Linked DNA regions of Homo sapiens: regions 2 and 3 are each linked to region 1. Evidence: promoter capture Hi-C in human tissues and cell types (Jung and others, 2019). All regions are on one chromosome and are shown on one strand. The core of a region is centred on a gene start or on the middle of the fragment in contact, and the rest is flanking DNA. Distances in the headings are between cores, read along the strand shown.

Region 1 (3,932 bases), core at 1,101-3,600:
ACCTCAGACCAAGCCAGGCCTGGGGAAGAGGGCAAGACCCAAAGGGTGAAGTGCTCGGGGTCCCAGGATCCAGCGCCCTTAAAATGCACACTCAAACACACTTCTCCCCTGCCCTTCCCCGGCAACCCCGCCACCTGGCCTAGTCGTGCTCGGGGCGCAGGGGGACTGGTGACCAGACCGGGCGGGGTGGGGGGTGGGCAGGGAAAGCACGTGGTGACCTCCTCGCGGTCCCGAGCTGTGGACAAGAGACGTCTGAGAAAGTACCCAGGGCGGAGGGGAGGGGAGGCGCAGAACGCGCTTTTACAGTTGCCCTGCAAAATAAAAATGCTTTGCAAAGCCGAGTTTCACCCAGCCGATTTCGCAGTCTGGGAGGTCGAGAAGAGGTCTCGGCATTGTGCTGGGGGCGGACCAGGACCACGGGCCAGGCTGGCGCGGAGACACTGCGTGGCCTGCCGCCGTGCCTGGCGGGTGGGCGCCGGGCGCCGGGTGGGCGATCCGGGGCTGGGCTGGGGCGCGGCGAGGTCGGGCAAGGCCCGGGCGAGGCCAGGCCGCCGCCGCCGCCTGCTCCGGGGCTGCCGCGCCGCGCTCGGTCCTCTGTCTGTTTGTTGGCAGGAGGCTCCCGCACACGCGGTGCTTGTAAACATTCAGACACGAGATTTTTCCCAATCAAAATCCACTTCCACTTTTTTTGAAAATCTTCCAAAAAATAGTAAGAGGAGGGAGTTCCTCTCTCCCTCTCCGTGCCGTCGGCGCCCTAAGTTTGCAACTGAAGGGGTTTGGGGGAAGAGGGTGATTGTAAATTTTTTTCTAGATGAGAGATTGTGAGATTTTTGCAGGGGGGCTGGTGGGGGAGTCAAAGAGAAGGCCGTCACAGAAAAGGGTTGGCAGAGCGTTTGGCTTCGGTTTGGGGGCAAGAAATTGTACATTCTCTTGCCTTGTTTTATTTATTTTATTTTTATGTATTTATTTATTTATGTGCCAGTCTTCTCCTTGCTGCCTCTGAGGTTCGGTCGGGAGGGGAGGGCAGCGGCAACCCAGGAGGCAGCAGTCCGGGCTCCCTCCCTCCCTCTCCCGCGTGCCCCCGGCCGCCTCCTCCCCCGGCCCTAGCTCCTGCCCTTCGGCGGCGGCGGCGGCGGCGGCGCGGGAGGGCAAGCGCGAGGAGCCGGCACAAAAGGCAGCGGGACAAACACCCACCTCTGGCCGGAACAAAAGGCGGCAGTGCCGGCCGCGTCTCCCGTCCTTCCCGGTCCCACGGCTCTCCCCGTCGCCGCGGCCCCTCTCCCGACTCCGCGGACTCAGGAGCGCCGGGGGCCCCTTTCCACAGTGCCACTTTCTCACTATTGTGGGGATGACTACTTTCCTCCCGCTGCACACTTGACCGTGAGCGCGCTGGTGTCCAAAAGCCAGTCTCACCTCTTTTCTCCCCGGGAATCGTTTTTTAGACTTGTACTCACTCCCTCCCTACCCCCCCATTTTCTTACGGTGAGTGGGAAGCAACCTCCCTTTCCCCACCAGCTCCCACCCCCAGGTTTGCATGTGAGTTGTTCGCAACCTTAGCATTGTTCATTATTTTGCAAAACTGGCGGGGCGGGGGGGGAGTGGAATCATTGCATTCCTTTTCGAAAAGAGAAATAAAGCGGCGGAAAGGAGGAAAGAGGAGGAGTCAAATTTTTGTAAAATTAAATAAAATTAAAAGGTGCGTGCTGTCTCAAAAGTGCATACACGGCAATGGTTCCAGATGGGATGAGGGTTTTTTCCCCCTTTATCTCTTTTACCTCGACTCTCGGAGGTTTTTCTCGTGAAAAATTTAAAAATGCATGCACACACCCCTCTCTCCCCCTCGCTTTTGCTTCTAGTCCTGCGCGCTCTCGTGATTATTAATAATTATTATTACTATTATTGGGTTACTTACGCGAGAATTCCCGTTTGCTTAAGTGCTGGGGTTTGCCTTGCTTGCGGCGAGACATGGTGGGCTGCGGGGCGGGCGGCGGCGGCGGCGGCGGCGGCGGCGGGCGGACGACGGCTCGGTTCACATCGGGAGAGCCGGGTTAGAAAGAAGGAGACTCCAGAGAAAATATCTTCATCAGTGCCTTTTGACATCCAAAATAAATTAGAAATAATACAAAGATGGCGCAGGGAAGATGAATTGTGGGAGAGCCGTCATGGCTTTTTTTTAAGCAAAAAAAAAAAAAAAAAAAAAAAAAAAAAGAGGGAGAGAGAGAGAAGAGAGATAGAGGGAGAGAGAGAGAGAGAGATGAAAAAAATGGCAAAAGCCCCCCTGAGCTGCAAGTTCAAGTGCGGACGTGACGTCCCTGCGAACTTGAACGTCAGGAGTCTGGATGGACAGAGACACACAAAACATGGGCAGGGCGAGCAGGAGAGAAGGGGAGGAGGGAAGGGGAAGCTCACACCAATGGACACACATCAGGGGCTGGACATGAAAAAGAGACCAGGACAAGCCAATGGCCAGTGCGGGGAGGGGGAGGTGCGGGGCGGGGGGCTCCGCGGACGCCAGACGCGGCCCCCGGGGGAGGGGCGGGCCGAGGGGAGGGGGCGCTGGGGCCGCGGGCTCACCAGTGGCCGCAGCGAGCGCCGCGGCGGTGGCGTGGCCGGGAGAGAAGAAAGGGGTGGCAGGGGTGGGAGGAAAGGGTGGGGGGGAGCAAGACGTGCGCCCTGCTCCCCCCCACACACGCGGACTCTAAAATGAAAGATTATTCAAAAAAGAAAAAAATAGAGCGAGAGTGCACCGGGAGGCTGCAGCCCCGGGCTGGGGAAGCGCGGGCGGAGGGAAGCCAGGTAGAGTTGCTCCCGGACACCCTCCTCCGTACGCACACCCACTTCCCCTCCCCGCCGCCGCCGCGCTCGCTCCCCGCGTGTGGACGCCAGGGGCCGAAGTAAAAGCCCCGAGCCCGCGGCTGCGCTCGGGAAACTTTGCCCGAGGAGAGGACAGCAAAGAAAAATCACCCGAAGTTGAGAGCTGAGCCTCCAAGTTACAGCTCCGCAGCGGGCGAGGGGAGGTGGGAGGGAGCGCACGGCAACGCGGAATCCAGCCTAAGTTTGGAGGGCTGCGGGTCCGGAAGGGCAGCGCCCAAGTCTCCAGGAGCCCGCGCGGCCTGGAAAGAGGGGACCGGGGAGAGGCAGGCGGCGCAGGCCGGGGCCCGAGGGCGCCCCCAAGGCCGAGCCAGGGACCGGGAATCTGAGCGCCCCGCCAAGCGACTGGGTCTGAATGCAACTGAAAGCGCCGAGTCCCCGGCTCCTAAGGGTCGCAGAAAGAGAGCCCGAGGAATAAAGAACGAGGAGCCAGAGTCTGGCCCCCGGAGGGGAGCGCCGGGGGCCTGGGCAAGAGAGGCACCGAGGCGTCCACCTCTCTGAGAGGCCGAGGACAAAGCGCGGGCAGTCCCGGGAGTCCCAGTCCCTGGGAATGTGCTCACGGCGCCGCGGGAGGTCCCCGAGCCGGGTCCCTGGGAGGGACACACCCCCTCCCACTCCAGAGCAACTGCAAAAGCACAGAGGGATGGGAAGAAAATGTTTCTTACGGGCAGAGCACAACTGTTCCTGTGCTGTTACCCAGGGAAAGAGAAAATGGGAATGGAGAGAGAGCGACAGGCTCGCAGGAGCAGCGGGGAGACCACGGTGGTGAGATGACCGCCTCGGGTCACCGCCGCGCTCCCCAGGCGCCGCCGGCCAAGGCGCACACCCAGGAGCCAGCAGCCCCCTCTCGCCTTTCTGCAGACGTTCCCTGGAAATTAGGGAAGACCTGTTGGAAATAAAACCCTGTCTCTTTAATGCACACACGCACACACACGCGCGTGCTGCCGCTGTCAAAAAGCGGGCTTCACTCTGGCGTGGGATACTTTCAGTTTTACGTAAAATGTACAGCAACAGCACCCCCTGCGATTGGAAAGTTTATTCAGAAACGTGCCTGTAAAGTC
Region 2 (3,807 bases), core at 618-3,117, 550 kb before region 1:
ACACTCATAACACACAAACACACACATTTCACACATGCACCCAAGAAATGCTTGCATAACAGCAGAAGCAACTACATGATTATGTACCATAGGGTGCAATTCAGAGGTGCAATCCTTTTCCACCTAGGGGCTGGGGTTGTAGGCCTTCTGTGGAGGAGAGTGAACCTTGAAAACAGGACCACAGCCTGTTTGAAATGAAAAAATTCCACAACCACAGAACAGCAAGGGTCTTCAGAATGACCTGATAGTACCTGTAAGGGAAGCAATACAGGAATTTGTAAGCAAAAACAACCAGTATAGAACCTGGGGAAAGAAGAGACTTATGGACTAAGAAAAAATCCCCTGGGAGACAAGAACACAGAGTTTCACACCAGACCAAAGAATTGAGAGCATCTTTCTTCTTTGACCTTCATCACCTTCTCAAATAAGGTCTTTGGGAGCTCAGAAGAGTCCTGGGTGATTTGGAGACCACTCTAGAAAGGCCCTCTCATTTCATACTTCACAAAGCATTTTCATACCTGTTATCTCACTGTGCCTTCTCAACAACCCTATGAATAAAAAATTTTTAATTACCCCCATTTTTAAAACATAGATAAGTATAACTGACTTTCTAAGAGGTTAAGGGATTTTCCCAAGTCATAAGTTAGCAAATACTCAAACTGGAATCTCATTCCTGTTTTTAAAGTTCAAGATCAGTGTGGGTTTTTTTTTTTTTTTTAACTACATGATAGTGTTGGGAAATGAAGACCTGCTCTCATGTCATAAAAAATGCCAGCCTGAGCCAGGGTCCTGCACAGGGCTTCCCCAGCCCTCAGGCCCCTGCTCTGAATAACAATACCATCTAATCATCAGAATTTCAAAGACAAAAGCCACAGCAACTCTTTATGATCACTGTGATAAATTAGGGTTCCGATCCTTTATATACACACTCAAGGACTGGAAGATGTTAACAGAAATAAATGAAAAATCCGTATATCACCCCGAGGCAAATTTTAGTTTGTTTTGCACAATCAATTCATATTTCAGTACTTTGGCCTTTTGCTAAATATTGGAAGAAAAAAGAAAGGAGGGAGGGAAGAAAAGAAATGGAAAAACTGATGTTGAAAAGGCAAAGCCCACTTTTTGACACCCTAGCTAGGTCATGTTGAATGAAAGGGACACTGGCACATTTAAAAGGACCATTTAACTGGATTCCTTAAGCTGGGTCTTGACAAGAAGCTTGAAGCAGGAATTTACTCTTTCTACTCATGGAACCCTGGCTGTGAAAACTGTCTGCCTTAGCCAAGTTTTTTTGAGTTCAGAAGTCAGCTAGATTTCTGAGCTTATAACTCCAACAGCACAGCCAGCCCACACAAGCTCCTCACCCTGTTCTACAGACTAGAGCAAGGGCTCCAAATCACAGGTGAGGAAGGTCATCTGAGTAGGAAGAAGCTGGGTTGCAGTGGAATCTACGCCTGCTGAGAAAATCCAGTGTCTTTTAAAGTCAGGAGGCAAGTGCTGTGACTGAGGTTTCAAGTTAGGAAAAGAAATGAGAATTGGGAGTCACTCAGCAGGGATGTCATATTAATGCAAGCATCTGAAACCCACCCAGTCCTTCAAGGGGCAGTAAAAATGTCACCTCCCCCAGGGGCAATTTCCCCTTATTCATTACTACTCCTGCCACTTCTTCTGTCTGCAGCTCATGCTGTCCTGTGTCAGTCCGTACTTAGGGGCAGAGAGGCAGGAAGGTGGGGCTGTCATTTAAACTCTGTGTTTTCTACACCAGGGGTCAGTAATTGACGGTCCCTGGGCCCACTGCCTGTTTTTATGGCCCACAAGCTAAGAATGGTTTTTACAATTTTAAATGGTTGAGAATAATCAGAAAAAGAATAGTGTTTTATAACAAAGAAAATGATATGAAATTCAGTGTCCACAAATTTTAGTGGAACACAGATACACCCATTTATTTACCTATGGTGGTTTTCACACCACAGCTCAGAATTGAGTAGCTGCAACAGAGAATGGATGGCCCACAAAGCTTAAATATTTACCACCTGGCTTTTTGCAGAAGGAACCTGCTGATCCTTGGTCTGGACTATAGCAAGAACTCAAGGAATGTTTGGGGTATAAGGGAAAGAAGAGAGTGTGAGGAAAGAAGGACGAGAGGAGGCATGGGAAGGGAAAGGAGAAAAACTAATGTAAGAATTAAAAGTAATAAAGAAAGGAAATAAAGACAGTTAAGGAATTCATTTAAGGAGTTAAAAGGGAGCAGAGGTCAGTCATTCAGGTTTTCATAAGCCATTGGATGTAAGAATGGCTATTTATGTTCCCAGATTCAGAGGATCCCTTGTGAGTATTAACACCAAATTGGTGGCTGTCCAAGAAGACATACCAGGAAATCAGTCAGGTGCCCAGCAGAAGTAGCTCAGAGCCAAGATCCCAGGACAGAGACAGTGTGAAGGGTTAAATTTCCCAAGCTGTAAACAGTGGTCTGTATTTCAGCGTTGTAACCATTCTTTTCACCCTTTACTCCTTCTATGCTCAGCCCATTATACCCCACTCCCATGGAGCAGAAGAGTCTCTGCTAGTTATCCCATTTACTGGACTTTCCAGGCTCATCACTTTACCTTTTGCACATTCCTATTTGGACACCTTCTCAGCAACCTCTCAATCAACTTGTGTCATGGAAAGTTTCAAGTCCTACTGCAGGTCTTCTGGATTCTTGGATAACCCGTCCACACTTGGCTACTCTTTCCTCTCTGGGTTCTCTCAGGACTTCACCTGCAGCACTTGGAATACTGGCTCAGCACTTGCCCTGCACTTAGGATGTTGCATTGAACACAATGACAGTTAAACACTGAGCCGGCTTTGAAGGAAGTTGTACAGCCAGTGCCTACCTCTATATGTCCAAAATCTCACCAGGGCTATCCCAACTAGAGTCATCTTTTTATCTCCTCAGCCTTTGTAATTATGTCCCCTCTTCTGTTCCTCATTTATCTTATTTTCTCTTTTGTTAATTAATTCTTCCAGAGATTTATTGTTAGTGCTTCCAAATGATCAACTTTTGGCTTTGTTGATTTTCTCTATTGCATATTTATTTTCCAGTCTACTCATTTGTACTTTTATTCTTTCTTCGTTATTTTTCCTTCAATTTTGTTTGACTTTATACTGCTCTGCTCTCCTAACTCCTAAAATTGAACATTGAATTAATTAATTTTGAGCTTTTCTTATTTTCTGATATGAGTACGTAAGTCTACAGCTTTCTGTCTAGGTCTTGTATTAACTATACCCCCGTATGTTTATGGGGGTATAGTTTATGTTTTGATACATAAACAACTATCCTGCAATTCTAAATATCTTGTGATTTCTCCTTTGACACGACTTACCTGAATGTATTTGTCTTAATTTTCAAACATATAGGTTTTTTCTAGTTAGTCTATGTTATTGTTGTATAATGTAATTGCATTGTGGTAAAGGGTGTGGTCTGGGTAGCTATGACCCTTTGAGATTGGCTGAGACCTGCTATAGGGCTCAGTACAAAGTAGATGACCATACATGTTTCATGGGTTCTTGAAAGAATGTGTGTTCTGCTGTTGTTGGCTGTAATGTTCTACGTATGTCCATTAAATCACATTTGTCAATTCTGTTGTTTAAATCTTTGTAGCCTTATTAATATTTTCTCTCCCTGTTCTATGTGTTACTAAAAGAAGTATGGTAAAACCCAAACACTATGGTAGGTTTATCTATTTGTCCTGCCTATTTTGTTGTATAAATTGAAAAGATATATTACCTCTTAGAGTTGTAATGTTTTCCTAGCGATCTGGATTT
Region 3 (3,850 bases), core at 1,338-3,837, 600 kb before region 1:
GAAGTGGGATTTTTCAGAGTAAGTGAATATTAAGTCTGCTTAATACCTGCATTAGGAAAGAGAAGAAACCACTTCTCAGTCTCCCCTCAGGCTTAGAAGAAAGCTGCCAAATGCTTTTTTGGAAGAAGCCATGTTCTAAGGTGGTCTTGTCTTTGAAAAACAAAGTAGAAAGAAGGTATAATCTGGGAGAGCAGATGAAAGGACAGAGAATCTCCGGCGAGTTTATCCAGCATCATCCACCATGCTGCTGAGGGAGAAGTTGGGCTCCTGTGAAGAGTGAAGAGGCATAAACAAGGAATCTCTTGGCCTCCCTCTGAGAAGTCACTATGGGACCATGCCCTTGATAGAAGGAAAATAAATAAGGGCAAGATATGCATAGGGAAAGATAAGTCATCAGTCTCCCCTCTTATCCAAGTCCATTTTCATAACACGCATTGGGATATTTTGAAAGCCGATGGCTTCTCCTCATCCTGTGATATAACGGTGCTGGCCGTCTTAATCAAAGCAGTGCAAACCCTTGTTCCTGTAGGCATGGCTATCTTATCAATTAGGGCTTTAGAAATGTCTCCGTTATTCTCCAAAGAGATAAAAACCAGTCTGACTTCTGATCCTCCATTTGTTCCACAAGAACAAGGAAGACAGAGGAAAAAGAAGAGGGATGTAAGTGAAGAATACAATTGGAAAGAGAAGATGAGAGCCTTATGGGTTGGAGAGATAAAAATGAACTGTCTGGGGGAAGAAGGAGGCACAAAGCCACAGTGGTAGCTTCACAGGAAGTCTATTGATCCATTTTACAGATGAGGAAACTAAGGTCCAAACAGGTTCTGTGACATGCCCCAGGCCACGCAACTACTTAGTGTAAGAGCCTGGTCTAGAGCTCCCCTGATTCACTGCCCAGTTTTAGCACCTGATACCACCTCTAGAGTAAAGAGATAATGAGCAAAGAAAGAGATGAGGAAAAGAGGAAAAACAGTTAAGAATGGAAGAAAGAGTATCTTAGAAGTTAAAAGCTAGAAGGTCAGCATACAATTTCTATTTTAGGAGTAAATTGAAAACATCATACCATTATCTGAGTGGACCCCACATGTGATTTGCAGAATCCAGCAAACAACTTGTCAGCCCTGTAAGTTTTCTGTCTGGAATGGTGGCAGTTGTAGACATAGGCCTCTGAGAGTCTTCCATCTCATTGCCTGATTTCCACAGCTAGGCCTTCACATCTGCAGTGTTTCTGTGGCTAAAACAACCAGTCAGGTTTTATCCCAAGGAGAACTCTTAATAGTGAATTCTGAGACAATCTCTGAGACCTTGTCCTTTTAAGTGGGTTTTGTATGGAAATGAAATTTGTCCCTTCTAGCTCCTTGGATAAAGAAGCTAAATGAGCGTTTATGGAAATTATATATCCCACGAACATCTCTTCTAACAGACAAGCTGTCTAGCTTGGTCCATGTGTGGTGAGCAAGAAAGGTTAGACTCAGAGTGGAGTGTAAGAAAACCTTCTTCATAGCCTGTCCCCTTTTTCAAGACCCAAAGTTAACTCTTTTATAATGCTGTACCCTAAACATGGAGCATCAGATAAAAGCTTGCCTGCAGAAAAGTCCCCCAGGGAGGCAGGGAATCAAGAGTGTGCTACTGCCTTGGCCTCAGGATGCAGTCGGCGATGTCTATACCAGGGCTTAGGCTGTGTTGAGGGATGAGGAAACTGTTTTAGTTTTTATTTTCTAGGCTTTCTCTCCTCCAGTCAATGGCCTTCCCTTTTTTCACAACTGCATGCAAAAAGGCTTTGATTCCTGGCTCCCTCACCACCCTTCGCTAACATGCGACAATTATGTGGCTACAACAAATGGCCAGAATATAGCTGGGCACACTATGACCCCCTGGATTAGAAAGGAAACACTGAGCAAGCGGAATGGTGGCTACTTCACTGGCTTTGTCAAATAGCCTGCATTTGTGAGGTCAAGGCTAATTTATTTATTCACTTATTCATTAAGTCAATCAACAAGTTAGCATTGCATGTATACTCTGGGTGAAAGAAATACCACACTGGTCAGAGTATCCAGAGGTGGATAAAACACATTCCCTGCTCTCAAAGAGTTTGCCACCTTAGAGAATCCATTTCATCTTACTCTTTGCCCAGCAACTACATCTAGAAACAAATGCTCGTATTGATAAAGCTGCCTCATTCTCTGCTCTAGCCTTATTTCAGTTTCTAAAAGGTTGATAATCCTTTCTGCCACGGGGCCATTTTCTCTTTCTGGGATGTTTTTCCCCGCTGCAACCTTTTCCTTACCTGTTAGCTCCTATTCAGCCTTTAGATCTTGGCCGAAACACCACTTCTCAGGGAAATCTTGTTTTCGCATTCAGCCTGGGTCAGTTTTCCTTGTTCTATCTCCCTTTTCCTTTTCAGTTTGTGATTAGATTTCCATTAATGAGTTATTTTTTGTTTATGTCTGTCCCCCTGCTGGAAGTGAGCTTGGAAGAATAGGGATGGTGGTTATTTTTGCTCAACATTGACTCTTCACGCCAGCCAGCAGAGAGCCTGGAACATAGTGGGCACTCAGGAAATACTGGTTGTTGAATGAATCAAAAGGAAACAACAGAACACTGCTATCAATACATCGTACATCCTAGTTCTTCATGCTAAGTGACCAGGTTGAAACTACTACTTATATAATTACATTGAAAACTTTACTTGAATATACATATATTCCAAGAGTCAGTGTGGAGGTTTAAAAGAATAGACTCTCCCCTTTCACCGTATACAAAAATCAACTCAAAATGGATCAAAGACCTAAATGTAAGACCTAAAACTTGTAGAAGAAAACACAAGGGAAACAATTCAGGACATTGGTCTGAGAAAAGATTTTATAAATAAGACCTCAAAAGTACAGGAAGCAAAAGAAAATAAAACAAATGGGTTTATATCAAACTACAAAGCTTCTGAACAGCAAAAGAAACAAACAGGAGTGAAAAGACAACCTATGAAATGAGAGAAAATATTTGTAAACTACTTATACAACAAGGGATTAATATCCAGAATATACAAGGAATGTAAACATCTCAACAGCAAAATAAATAAACAAAAACTCAATTTTAAGCTGGGAAAATGATATGAACAGACATTTCTCAAAAGAAGAGATACGAATGACCAAAAAGTATATGATAAAATGCTCAACATCATTAATCATCAGGGAAATGCAAATCGAAACCACCATGAGTTATCATCTGACCCCAGTTAGGATGCTTATTATTGAAAATACAAAAAACGACAAATGCTGATGAGAATGCAGAGAAAAGAAAACTCTTATACACTGTTGGTGGGTAAACTAGTACAGCCATTATGGAGAACAGTATGGAGGTTCCTCAAAAAACTATAAACAGAGCTACCATTTGATCCAGCAATCCCACTACTGGGAATTTATTCAAAAAAAGGAAATTGATATATGGAAGAGACATCTGTACCCCCATGTTTATTATAGCACTAGTCACAATAGCCAAGATATGGAATGAACTTAAGAATCCAACAACAGATGAATGGATAAAGAAAAAGTGGTATATATGCACAATGGAATATTAGTCAGCAATATAAAAGAATGAAACCCTGCCATTTGTGGCAACATAGATGAACCTAGAGGATATTGTCTTACATGAAATAAGCCAGGAACAGAAAATCAAACACCGCATGTCCTCACTTATATGTGGAAGATTAAAAAATAAAGTTCATCTCATAGAAGTAAAAAATAGAACAGAGGTTACTAGAGGCTGGGAAAGGTAGGAGGAGGAGAGAGATAGGGAGATATTTGTTAAAGGATACAGAATTATAGCTGGATAGGAGGAATATGTTCTAGTTTCT

What was found. Contacts are between HindIII fragments. The study calls those that stand out against the background at their distance.
Region 2: a fragment that was not itself captured here is called in contact with the fragment with the promoter of BCL11A in region 1 in 1 of the 25 tissues and cell types used here (spleen).
Region 3: a contact is called between a fragment that was not itself captured here and the fragment with the promoter of BCL11A in region 1, in 1 of the 25 tissues and cell types used here (lymphoblastoid cells).

The regions. Positions count from the first base shown.
Region 1 is chr2:60,551,304-60,555,235 of GRCh38, forward strand. BCL11A (BCL11 transcription factor A) reads right to left here and starts at 2,351. Exons shown (of 4, transcript NM_022893.4): 1 at 1,913-2,351. The coding sequence starts at 1,967. RefSeq lists silencers at 112-421, 482-541, 1,062-1,421, 2,831-2,920, 3,861-3,932 and an enhancer at 3,611-3,660. The HindIII fragment of the contact is 9,532 bases long and covers 1-3,932 here.
Region 2 is chr2:60,000,937-60,004,743 of GRCh38, forward strand. No RefSeq gene overlaps it. Among named protein-coding and RNA genes, the nearest start is that of MIR4432, 380 kb to the right of the region's middle. The HindIII fragment of the contact is 3,989 bases long and covers 1-3,807 here.
Region 3 is chr2:59,952,579-59,956,428 of GRCh38, forward strand. No RefSeq gene overlaps it. Among named protein-coding and RNA genes, the nearest start is that of MIR4432, 430 kb to the right of the region's middle. The HindIII fragment of the contact is 4,681 bases long and covers 248-3,850 here.